Regions from separate parts of the Homo sapiens genome. Here regions 1 and 2 are each linked to region 3. Evidence: promoter capture Hi-C in human tissues and cell types (Jung and others, 2019). All regions are on one chromosome and are shown on one strand. The core of a region is centred on a gene start or on the middle of the fragment in contact, and the rest is flanking DNA. Distances in the headings are between cores, read along the strand shown. Region 1 overlaps CAMSAP1 (calmodulin regulated spectrin associated protein 1). Region 2 holds the start of CAMSAP1 (calmodulin regulated spectrin associated protein 1). Region 3 holds the start of NACC2 (NACC family member 2).

What was found. Contacts are between HindIII fragments. The study calls those that stand out against the background at their distance.
Region 1: a contact is called between a fragment that was not itself captured here and the fragment with the promoter of NACC2 in region 3, in 4 of the 25 tissues and cell types used here (IMR-90 fibroblasts, dorsolateral prefrontal cortex, heart right ventricle and 1 more).
Region 2: a contact is called between the fragment with the promoter of CAMSAP1 here and the fragment with the promoter of NACC2 in region 3, in 1 of the 25 tissues and cell types used here (dorsolateral prefrontal cortex).

What each region holds. Positions count from the first base shown.
Region 1 is chr9:135,840,286-135,844,413 of GRCh38, forward strand. The region is part of intron 7 of CAMSAP1 (calmodulin regulated spectrin associated protein 1); the gene reads right to left. Among named protein-coding and RNA genes, the nearest start is that of CAMSAP1, 65 kb to the right of the region's middle. The HindIII fragment of the contact is 5,758 bases long and covers 1-4,128 here.
Region 2 is chr9:135,905,675-135,909,769 of GRCh38, forward strand. CAMSAP1 (calmodulin regulated spectrin associated protein 1) reads right to left here and starts at 1,872. Exons shown (of 17, transcript NM_015447.4): 1 at 1,326-1,872. The coding sequence starts at 1,485. It overlaps CAMSAP1-DT (CAMSAP1 divergent transcript), which reads left to right and starts at 2,159. Exons shown (of 2, transcript XR_007061860.1): 1 at 2,159-3,245. RefSeq lists an enhancer at 1-364 and silencers at 1,011-1,060, 1,461-1,530, 1,611-1,720, 1,761-2,440. The HindIII fragment of the contact is 39,877 bases long and covers 1-4,095 here.
Region 3 is chr9:136,093,035-136,097,190 of GRCh38, forward strand. NACC2 (NACC family member 2) reads right to left here and starts at 2,255. Exons shown (of 6, transcript NM_144653.5): 1 at 2,155-2,255. RefSeq lists an enhancer at 271-962 and silencers at 2,168-2,297, 2,618-2,717. The HindIII fragment of the contact is 19,137 bases long and covers 1-4,156 here.

The DNA.
Region 1 (4,128 bases), core at 1,112-3,611, 250 kb before region 3:
CGGGCCCATGACTCTGAGGTCCCCCTCCCCCGCTATGTCTCATCCCAGAGTGAACTGAAGCTTAGCTGCTTCCTAGCATTCCTGACTCCTCATTCCTAAGGACCAGCAGGCAAGAAGAGGAGCCCCGCAAGAAGAAGGGGGCTCCAGCCATGACTCACGACGGGGTCCGATGGGAAGAGGCCTTTCCCACCAGGCAGAACAGGTGAAACCACCTCACAAGCAGCAGGAAAAACAAGACTTCCTTCTTGAGCTGGACAGTATCATGAAAAGGGTGAAGAAAGGCAGGAGGAAGGTGGCTGGCAAGATCAAACAGCTCCAATCTGCAGCTCCCAGCAAGATCAACACAGAAGGCGGGTGATTTCTACATTTCCTACTGAGGTACCCAGCTCATTTCATTGGGGCTGATTAGACAGTGGGTGCAGCCCACAGAGGGCAAGCACGGTGGGGAATCACCTCACCCAGGAAGCACAATGGGTCGGGGAACTCCCTCTTCCAGCCAAGGGAAGCCGTGAGGAATGGTGCATTCTGGTCCAAATACTATGCTTTTCCCACAGTCTTCGCAACCCACAGACCAGGAGATTCCCTTCAGTGCTTACACCACCAGGGCCCTGGGTTTCCAGCACAAAACTGGGCGACCATTTGGGCAGACACCGAGCTAGTTGCAGGAGTTTTTTTTCATACCCTAGTGGTGCCTGGAACGCCAGCGAGGCAGAACTGTTCATTCCCCTGGAAAGGGTGCTGAAGTCAGGGAGGCAAGTGGTCTAGCTCAGTGGATCCAACCCCCACAGAGCCCAGGAAGCTAAGATCCACTGGCTTGAAATTCTCGCTGCCAGCACAGTAGTCTGAAGTCGACCTGGGGTGCTCGAGCTTGGTGGGAGGAGGGACGTCCACCATTACTGAGGCTTGAGTAGGTGGGTTTTTCCCTCACAGTGTAAACAAAGCCGCCAGGAAGTTTAAACTGGGTGGAGCCCTCCAGAGCTGGGCAAAGCCGCTGTAGCCAGACTGCCTCTCTAGATTCCTCCTCTCTGAGCAGGGCATCTCTGAAAGAAAAGTATTAGCCCTAGTCAGGGGCTTATACATAAAACTCCCATCTCCCTGGGACAGAGCACCTAGGGGAAGGGGTGGCTATGGGCATAGCCTCAGCAGACTTAAACATCACCGCCTGCTGGCTCTGAAGAGATCAGTGGCTCTCCCAGCACAGCGCTCAAGCTCTGCTAAGGGACAGACTGCCTTCAAGTAGGTCCCTGACTCCCGTGCCTCCTGACTGGGTGTTTACCTCCCAGCAGGGGTCAACAGACACCTCATACAGGAGAGCTCCGGTTGACATCCGGAGGGTGCCCTTCTGGGACAAAGCTTCCAGAGGAAGGAACAGGCAGCAATCTTTGCTGTTCTGCAACCTCTGCTGGTGATATCCAGGCAAACAGGGTTTGGAGTGGACCTCCAGCAAACTCCAGCAGACCTGCAGCAGAGGGACCTGGCTTTTAGAAGGAAAAGTAACAGAAAGGAATAGCATCAACATCAACAAAAAGGACATCCACACAAAAACCCCATCCAAAGGTCACCAACATCAAAAACCAAAGGTAGATAAATCCACAAAGATGAGGAATAACCAGTGCAAAAAGGCTGAAAATTCCAAAAACCAGAATGCCTCCTCTCCTCCAAAGGATCACAACTCCTTGCCAGCAAGGGAACAAAGCTGGACGAAGAATGTGTTTGACAAACTGACAGAAGTAGGCTTCAGAAGGTGGGGAATAACAAATTCCTCTGAGCTAAAGGAGCATGTTCTAACTTAATGCAAGGAAGCTAAGAACCTTGAAAAAAGGTTAGAGGAATTGCTAACTAGAATAACCAGCTTAGAGAAGAACACAAATGACTTGACGGAGCTGAAAAACACAGCACGAGAACTTCATGAAATATACACAAGTATCAGTAGCTGAATCGATCAAGTGGAAGAAAGGATATCAGAGATTGAAGATCAACTTAATGAAATAAAGCATGAAGACAAGATTAGAGAAAAAAGAATGAAAAGGAACAAACAAAGCCTCCAAGAAATATGGGACTATGTGAAAAGCCCAAACCTACGTTTGACTGATGTACCTAAAGTGACGGGGAGAATGGAACCAAGTTGGAAAACAAACTTCAGGATATTATCCAGGAGAACTTCCCCAACCTAGCAAGACAGGCCAACATTCAAATTCAGGAAATACGGAGAACAGCACACTCCACGAGAAGAGCAACCCCAAGACGCAATCATCAGATTCACCAAGGTTGAAATGAAGGAAAAAATGTTAAGTGCAGCCAGAGAGAAAGGTCAGGTTACCCACAAAGGGAAGCCCATCAAACTAACAGCAGATCTCTCTGCAGATACCCTAAAAGCCAGAAGAGAGTGAGGGCCAATATTCAACATTCTTAAAGAAAAGAATTTTCAACCCAGAATTTCATATCCAGCCAAACTAAGCTTCATAAGCGAAGGAGAAACAAAATCCTTTACAGACAAGCAAATGCTGAGAGATTTTGTCACCACCAGGCCTTACAAGAGCTCCTGAAGGAAGCACTAAACATGGAAAGGAAAAACTGGTACCAGCCACTGCAAAAAGATGCCAAATTGTAAAGACCATCAACACTATCTATGAAGAAACTGCATCAACTAACGGGCAAAATAAGCAGCTAGCATCATAATGACAGGATCAAATTCACACATAACAATATTAACCTTAAATGTAAATGGGCTAAATGCCCCCAGTTAAAAGACACAGACTGGGCCGGGTGTGGTGGCTCGCACCTGTAATCCCAGCACCTTGGAAGGCCGTGGCAGGTGAATTACCTGAGGTCGGGAGTTCGAGACCAGCCTGACCAACATGGAGAAACCCCGTCTCTACTAAAAATACAAAATTAGCCAGGTGTGGTGGCACAGGCCTGTAATCCCAGCTACTCGGGAGGCTGAGGCAGGAGAATCGCTTGAACCCGGGAGGCAGAGGCTGCAGTGAGCCAAGACCACACCATTGCACTCCAGCCTGGACAACAAGAGCGAAACTCCATCTCAAAATAAATAAATAAAAAGACAGACTGCAAATTGGATAAAGAGTCAAGACCCATCAGTGTGCTGTATTCAGCAAACCCATCTCATGTACAAAGACTCAAAATAAAGGGATGGAGGAACATTTACCAAGCAAATGGAAAGCAAAAAAGAAGCAGGGGGTGCAATCCTAGTCTCTGATAAAACAGACTTTAAACCAACAAAGATCAAAAAAGACAAAGAAGGGCATTACATAATGGTAAAGGGATCAATGCAATAAGAAGAGCTGGCAGGGCGCAGTGGTTCATGCCTGTAATCCCAGCACTCTGGGAGGCCGAGACAGGTGGATCACGAGGTCAGGAGATCGAGACCATCCTGGCTAACACGCTGAAACCCCGTCTCTACTAAAAAATACAAAAAAAATTGGCTGGGCGTGGTGGCGGGCACCTGTAGTCCCAGCTACTTGGGAGGCTGAGGCAGGACAATGGCGTGAACCTGGGAGGCGGAGCTTGCAGTCAGCCAAGATCGCGCCACTGCTCTCCAACCTGGGCGACAGAGCAAGACTCCGTCTCAAAAAAAAAAAAAAAAAAAAAAAGAAGCGCTAACTATCCTAAATCTGTATGCCCCCAATAGAGGAGCACCCAGATTCATAAAGCAAGTTCTTAGAGACCTAGAAAGAGACTTACACTGCCACACAATAATAGTGGGAGACTTTAACACCCCACTGTCAATATTAGACAGATCGGGACAGAAAATTAACAATACTCAGGACTTGAATTCAGCTCTGGACCAGGCAGACCTAATAGACATCAAGAGAACTCTCCACCCCAAATCAACAGAATACACATTCTTCTCAGCACCACGTAGCACTTACTCTAAAATTGACCACATAATTGGAAGTAAAACACTCCTCAGCAAATGCCAAAGAACGGAAATCATAACAAACAATCTCTCAGACCAAAGTGCAATCAAATTAGAACTCAGGATGAAGAAACTCACTCAAAACCGCACAACTACATGGAAACTCAACAACCTGCTCCTGAATGACTACTGGGTAAATTACGAAATTAAGGCAGAAATAAAGAAGTTCTTTGAAACAAATGGGAACAAAG
Region 2 (4,095 bases), core at 622-3,121, 190 kb before region 3:
AGACATCATTGGCAAAGGTGTAAAAACTAGTTCGTGGTGTAAGCACATGCGGCAAAATACAAAGAAAAGCAAAACAGTGACTAACACAAGGTGTGAGGCAGGTGAGCCCACGCAGCCGGCAGTGACTGCAAGATACCCAGGCGTCCGCTCTCGGGCTGTTCTTTGCACCTGACTCAAGTTTCATACCTACATCTTACCAATTCCGTTCTCAAAAACTCATGTGAAGTCTTGGATGTAGCAGTGTTTCTTCCTCATTACAACACAGAAACTAAGGTTCCACTGAGCCAGTAAACAAGAACTGTAAAACTGAAAACTGTCAAAGGAAAAACTCTTTCCCAATTACTACTTACACAGTACAAAAACCAGTTTGAAATAAGGCGAGTTATTTAATCCCTAAAACTTACAAAACGCGTTTGTCCTTATGACTAACTCGAGTCTAGCTGGGGCACAGGCCACTGTCAAACAGGGCAACGCCTACTCAGCGTTTTCCAAACTGGTCAACTGAACTCTTCTCTGGAAGGGCTGTCTCCTTTAGTCTTACTCTAAAAAGGGTAATTTTTCACCAGAATAAAGGCAAATATTTTAAGAATGCTTCAAATGAAAAGAGGATTGCAGAAATATTAACCTTTAATTGTACCTGAAACAAAGCACCTGAAATTAATAAAGAAGTCAGCCACTGACGAGAATCACTAGGTCTGTCCTGTTCCCAGGGCACGAAACAGAAGCGTCTTAATCCACTAAGCACATTAGGGCCTAACAAACTGGACTGAGTAACAAGGTTACCTAGTTCTTCCAAACAGGAATTAACCAAAGGGGATCATTATGATTAAGCACAATGCGCGGAATACGCAATTTCTAGTTGGGGAATTCAACAGCTGACAGCTTGTAAGCATCAAAATTCATAACAAGTGCAAGGCTCGGAATCACAGGTCCAGCACTGGACGATGCCCGGCGCGCCGGGAAGCGGCGCCTCAGACGGCGGCCCCGCGTCCCCATGGTCCCTCCCTGCGCCCAGAACCGGGCAGCTCCTTCCCGCCGCCGCCGCCGCCAACGGGAGGCTGGGGGCACTCCCGAAATAGGAGCGGAAGCCCCGACCCACGCCGCCCTCCGCCGCAGGGACGCCCACTCGCCAGGTGACCGCGTCCCCACGCTCCGCGTTGCCCGGGCGCCGCCAGGACCTCGGAGGCGGCCGGCCCAGCCCCGACCCTGTGCGGACGCGGCACAAAGGCGCGGCGCGCGGACCCCGACCCGGCCGGACCCCGGCCGCGTCCCCCGGCCCCGGCCCGCGCCCCTGGCCCCCGCCCCGCGCCCCTCACCCGGCCCACCTCGGCCGTAGGCCTTGGCGCAGATCCACTGCAGGTTGGCGGCGATCTTGGCGCGCGCCGCGTCGTAGCGGTCCAGGGGCACGAGGTCGGCGGCGCCGTCCGGCGGGGCCTCCATCTTCCTCCAGCCCTCGGCGGCGGCGCGGCCGCTCGCGTCCACCATCTGCAGACAAAGGGCTGAGGCGGCGGCCCGGCCGCAACAAAGGCGCCGCCGCCCCTCGCCGCGCCGGGCCCGGTGCGCCCCGAGCCACCACTCGGCCCCGCAGCCGGCCAGCCGGGAGGGGCGCCCGAGCGCGGCCCCCGCCTCACCTCACAGCCGCCGCCGTCGCCGCCCCCGCGGCTGCTGCATGCTGCGGGCGCTGAGCCCGAGCGGAGGAGGTGCCGAGCCCGCGGCCCAAAGAGGCGGCGGCAGGAGGGCGCGGGCCGGGGGCGGGGGCGGGCGCGGGGGCGGGAGCGGGCCGGGGGCGGTGGCAGCGCGTGCGCGGTCCCGGGTGAGCGGCGGCGGCGGCGACAGCGGCTGAGGCGGTGGCCAAGGAGCGGGAGCGCGCTCACCGCCGGGGCCTCGCACAGGCGCAGTAGGCACCGCCCGCCACCCCGCCCTCGACCCCGCCCCCAGCTCCGCTCCCTTCTCGCGCCTGCCCCGCCCCTTTCCGCAGGCGCAGTAGGCACCGCCCGCCAGCCCGCGCCCGCCCCGCCCCTTTCCGCAGGCGCAGTAGGTGGCACCCGCAGGCCTGTGCCTGCCCCGCCCCTTTCCGCAGGCGCAGTGAGCGTCGACCCGCCCCTCCCCGCCCGCTTCCGCAGGCGCAGTAGGACCCGCCCTGGTCCGCGCCTGCCCCGTTGCTTTCCTCAGGCTCTAAGGCCCGCGGTGTGGAGCGCGGCGTAGGCAGCGGGGAGTGGGCGGCGCGGGGTGGGTGGAGTGGGTCGGCGGCGGGGATCCTGCCGAGCCCGCAGCTGCCCTCTTTTAGCGCCGTGTCTCCTCCCCGGCCCTGGCTCGTCCCACCTCAGCCACAGCCCGGCCCCCTGGCCGGCCGAGGTCTCGCCGCCGGCGCCCTGGGGACCTCGTGGGTGTGGCCGGCGGCGACCTCGGCAGGCGACAGCCCAGCAGACGGGCACCAGGTGGACGTGCCAGTCTCCAGACCCCCGTCCCGGTGCAGGGAAGGTGGGCGTTTGGACCCCTGAGGCAGAAACAGGTGCGGCCCCGCCGGCGCATCCCCCGGAAGGGACGCTGACTTCGTTCCCCTGGAGCCTGCGTCGGGGCCCGCGCTGGGCTGAGAATTACGGGAACGCCGTGAGAGTTTGCATTCCGAGGATTTGGTCTGAGAACCTCACCAGCGAAATAGAGAACTGCCCCCGGGAGAGCCGGCCCACGTGCCGCCCACCGGCGCCTTGACGGCAGGGAGAGGTCGAGCTTCCAGGGAGCGGGCGCCCGGCGCGGGGCTCCCAGCCTGTCTGTACCTGGTCGAGACACCCCGTGCCAGAGGCGGAACATGTATGAAATGCCAGGTGCCCAGAGGACCCAGGCAGTCCGTCATTCACATACCAACCCACGTGCAGGCTTCAATTCAACCTTGAAGCCATTTGGGCCTGGGCTTTTTTGATGACTTATTTGATTCATAGTTTTTTGGTTACTAATTGAGTCTCTTCACTTGTTATAGGTCTGTTGAGATTGTCTATTTTTTCTTGAGTCAGCCGTCTGAAAAGAACACGAGGTGGACAGGGCAGAGCGGTCAAGGAAAGCCATAGGAGGAGGGCACTTATTTGAGCAAAGACCGGCGGGACGTGGGCGTCGAGGGTAAGGATATCTGCAGAAGTACTGTCTTGAGCAAGGAGCACGGCAGACAGAGCCTCTGAGACACGAGAGCCTGGAGTGTAAGAAACACAGTAGAGGCCACTAAGTCGAGAACGCAGGAGCTGGAAGGACTGGTAGGAAATGGGAGGTGGGGACATGGAGGGATGCAGACAGGTCCTGCACAGTCAGAACTGTGGCCCCTTCTCTGCAGGAAATGGGCAGCCTTCGGAAGACTGAGCACACGGAAGGATATGACTAACCCTTTAAAAGGGTCATTCTGACTCCTGGGTGAAGAACAGACTAGGAAGGGCTGAGGAGGAGGCAGGAGGCCATCTACTGTTATATGGGATGTGGAGTGTGACCCGGAAAGGTCAAGTGTGACTCTAAGGGCTTTTTGTGTACTGATCTTTTATCCTGCAACCTTGCTAAACCCATTTATTAGTTCTTCTTGTCTTTTAGTGGCATTTATTAGTTGTTCTAGTGTTTTAGTGGATTCCTTGGGATTTTATACAAAAGCGTGTCATTTGTGAATAGAGATCAGTTTATCTCTTCCTTTCTAATCTGGATGCCTTTTATTTCTTCTCCTTGCCTAGCTGCCCTATCTAGAAGCTCCAGTACAATATTGACTAGAAGCAGCAAGAGTGGACATCCTTGTCTTGCTCCTGATTTCAGGGAGGAGGCATCCAGTCTTTCACCTTTGGGTATGATGATAGCTGTGGGTGCTTAAAAAATAGGTTTTATCAGGCTGGGCACAGTGGCTCACGCCTGTAATCCCAACCCTTTGGGAGGTCGAGGCGGGCGGATCACGTGGGGTCCAGAGTTTGAGACCAGCCTGGCCAACATGGAGAAATCCCATCTCTACTAAAAATACAAAAAGTTAGCTGAGGTTGGTGGCCGGTGCCTGTAATCCCAGCTAAAAAAGGGAAACTGTCTAAAAATCATTAAAAAAAAGGGTACTTCCTCAACCTGATAAAACCTATTTTT
Region 3 (4,156 bases), core at 1,005-3,504:
CTCGGTGCCCTGTGCGTTCCAGGGACACAGGTCAGAGGCACAGACCTCAGAGGAAGGGGCACAAGGTGGAACCTTGGGAACTCAACATCCCGAAAAGGACAACACCTTGGTTCCCCATTCCATCCCTCGGGCCTGGGAGACCACACTGCCCACAAACCAGGAAAGCAGGACTCCGGAGGCAGAGGCCAAGAGGAGTGCAGGCCTGGAAGAACCGCTCAGCACCAAGATCGTCACTGTTGTTTCATGAATAATGCAGCCTCATGCTTTAATTGGAAAACAAAGGGAGGATTGAAGAATTTTTTAAAAGTCACCACTAGCCCCCTGCCCAGGGCAGAGCAGCCCTGCGAACCCTTCCAGCAGCCGGTGGTAAAGAACAGAGCCTGTTCTCGCAGCCTGTAGCAGCCCAGCTCCCACTGCTCCCAGCAGGAGATCTCCCGGGTGGCTCCTCCCCGCCTTCCCGCCAGGCCAGGGCCAGCACCATCGAGCCCTGGGTGTGACCACTGCGAAAGGATCCCTGGCCACTAAGAAGTGACAAGTGATATCTTGTTCCACTCTCTGTGCCCATTCCAAGTGGCTTTGCCGAAAGGACAGGGGGCCACCACCTTGGGTGGCAGCTCCTTTTATTTCCTCCCCTTGGACTCTGGCCCAGCTACCACCCAACAGTGACCCCAGGGGAAAACGCCAAGAGGCCTCTTTAAGGGAGGGGCTGGGAAAGGCCCCACAGAGGACCAGAGGGGTGCTCCAACGGTGGCCGGGAGAAGAAGGGGTGGGTGGCTGAGAGGTGGCGGGTGGGGCGGGGGCTGCCTGAACCCTGACCTAACTCTAGGCGCCCCTGCTGGGGGGTGCTACAGGCTAAAACACCCTGCAGAATGCTGAGCTGAGTGTCCCACTGGAGAACAGGAGGGAAGGAGGTCAGGAGCCTGCCAGACGAAAAGAGGGGTGGGTGAGAAGAAGGGGCGACCTGGAGGGACACGGACTCTGGCAGGAGAGTGCGGCCGCGCTGGCGGGCGGGAACACCAAGGTGCACGCGCTCCCGGAGGCAGCTCCACGGGATGGGAGTCCGGGCTGCCTTGGGCACCCCCGGGTCAGCACCCCCGCCACACACAGGAAGGAACGCGCAGCAGAGAACACAGCTCAGGGCACCCAGCGGCCCAGGGAGACGGGCCCACCAGCACGTGGGTGAAACACCTCCAATCCGGAGGCCCCGCGCGGGGGTTGGGGGAGGGAGTGGAACGGCCTGGGAGGCCAACTCCAGGGACCCGGCCTCGCGGCCTTCAGACCCACAGGTTTAAGCGGCTCCACGACGAGAGTCCAAGACCAAACTTCCCCCAGAGCCTGGCAGAGGGGCTGGGAGGTGACCTCTGACCTCCGACCCCACACGATCCCAGCAAGAGAAGCAGGAAACTCCGTCGGAAGGCCTCGGTCCGCCCTGGCCGTGCGGGGTGCGCGGCGGGCCCCGGGCTCCGCTGAGTTTCTTAGAGAAGGAGCTGGGGCCCCCCGACCTCAGCTCCGCAGAGGCACAGAAGCTGGCAAGAGGCAGAGCCCCCTCCCCCTGCGGCCGGACCCCAGTTTCTCCCCAGGCTGGGGCCCGAGTGGGGGAGGCGCGGGAGGCGGTGACGACCCACGAACGGGCCCACCTGGACCGGGAGGGCGAGGCGCGGGCCCGGCTGGGCCAGGCAGCTGCGCAGATGCGCCGGGAGGGGTGGGTACCTCCGCCCTGGCCCCGGGCCAGTCCTGCCCCGGCTTCCCCACCCGGAGGGCTGGATCGGCCAGTCGGGTCCCTGGGGAGGCCGCGCGGGTCCCCAGAAATCCAGGGAAACCCAGCAGGCGGCGGGGAGCGCCCCGGGACGCCCGGAGCCGGGGTCTCCCCGAACGCGCGGCGCGGCGTCCCGGCCCGGGGTCGCGGGCGCCTCCGCCGGGACCCCCCGGCCCCGCCCGGCCCCCCTCCGCGGGCTCCCGAGGCCGGTTCCCGCGCGCACGCCCGGGCCGGCGCGGAACTCGGCCGCACCCGCCCCGCGCGGCCGGCACTGCGGCAGGGGGCTCGCGCCAAGTTGGGCGGCCGCGGAGTTTGCGGGAAGTGCGGGCCCGGCCCGTGGGACGACCCCGCCCGGCGGCGTAACCCGGGGGCGGCCGCGCGCGCCAAGTTGGCGGTACCTGCGGGCGCCCGGCCCGGTCCGGCCTGGGCAGCTGCGGCGCGCCGCCCGCGGCAGGAAGTGCTTGGCGTCCCGGCGCTCCGGCTCCCATGGACTTTCTCCGACCTCGCCCAGCACCGGCGGCCGCACCGCGGCGGGGGCGGGGCGGCGGCGGGGGAGGTGCCCGCGGGCCGTTAAAGGGACAGCGCGCCGGCCGCGCGCGCGCGCGCACTGGCAGCCAGGTGGGCTCCCGGGGTCGGGGCTGGGGTCCGGGGGCCGGGAGGGTCCCCAGTGGGGGCCGGCGGGGCGTGGGGAACCCCGAGCGCTGGGGAGGGGAGGCGGCAGCTCCTCGCCCCTCGCGCGTCCTCCTTCCGGAGCTGCCGGCGGTCGACCCTGCGCGGGACACCCGGCGGGAGCCGGACGCCGCGGCGCAGAGGACGGAGCTCGGCGGCCGGGTCGGGAAAGGACCTGGAGCGCCGCCCTCCGCCCTCCCCGGGCCCCGGCCTCGGCCGGACTCGCTAAGCCCGGGAGAGCCCCCGGGCCCCCCTACCCCGCCCCCGGCGCGCGCCCTGCCCGCGGCAGTCGCGTCCGCACGGTGCAGCCTCCGGGATCCGGGCGGGGGAAGTGCGCGCATCCGCAGCCGCCCTGGACGCTCAGGCGGGCCGTGAAAGACGAGGATACGGGAGCGCCCTTGGGCGAACGTCTGCGGGGCTCCGGCGCCCGTCCCTGCGGCCCGGGAACTGCAAGCTGCCTGGACTGGGCCTGGCGCTGCCTTCAGGCCTGGTGTGATCCGGGCGCACTGGGGCGTTGACAGTCATTCCGGCACCGGCCACGCAGCTCTCCATCTGCCCAAGGCCACGCTCCTGAGGACAGAGGTGCAGTTTTAAAACAAGGGCACGGAAATAAAACGGCCACACACCCGGAAAGACCCAGAGACCCCTCCTCAGCTGCCCCCTAACCTGGGGCCTGAGGTCAGGACAGGCTGCAGTGGTCCTCAGAGGCTAAGCCAGCCTCACTCCCACAGCACGCTCAAGGGTCCTTGCAGGAGAATGGAGTGATACCGCCTCAGTGGTCCCGAGCGAGGGCGCTGGGAGAAGGGTTGAGAAGGAGATGGCCACCAGCATCCCAGAGAACGCCTTTGGGGCTCTGGGGATCAGAAACCTGGGGCTACAGCCCTTCTGGCACAGTCAGCCAAGGTCATTCCCTGGACAAATCATCAGAAGCTTGGCCAGGTTCTTGTCACCCCAACCTCAAGCTAGGCCCTTGATCTTGGCCACAGACTGGCCCTTGACCCCAACTTTAGGTTCTATTCAGCTCTGCGTCCAGAACACACACACACACACACACACACACTTCACTCCCTGGCTTGCCTTGTATGGGGGTGAGTATGGAACCCCGCAGGGACTCTGGGCTCTCCCCACAGAGTCCCATCTAGACCTAAATGCAGTCCCAGGTCCCACACCCCAACCCCCCTCCCCCCACCACTGCCACTTCCAAACCCGCCCCGCAGTCTACTGTGGGAAGGAGGTGGGGTAGGAGGGTTCTGAGTGCCTCCTACACCCAGGGCATGAGCTCAGCAGCCTCAGGGTTCTGGTGCTTCCTAGGCCTGACTTTACAATCTCTGCAGGATCTCTCAGTGAGCATAGCTACCCCAAGCCCCTGAGAATCGTGAATCCCAGAGACAGATGCCTGGAGCTGCTTCCAGCCCTGGGGCAGGCCTCAAGGGGCTACCCACTAGGACCCGTGGCCCTCCAGGGATGGGAATGATTGTTTTAATCACTTTTATTTTCTAAATATTAAAGACATTCTTCCTTAGTGAAGGATATTTGGAAAGCATTGAAAAGTGTTTAGAAGATAGCGGATAAGCAGAAATCAATTCCCCAATTTCTGTGTGCCTATACGTATGTACACCAACATATATTTGCACCTTTTAAAGCAAACCCTGCATCCCTACTGAATTCCAGGCCCGTGCTACTGAGTATGTACACCTTACCGCATTTAACGTTCACAACAGTACCATGAGG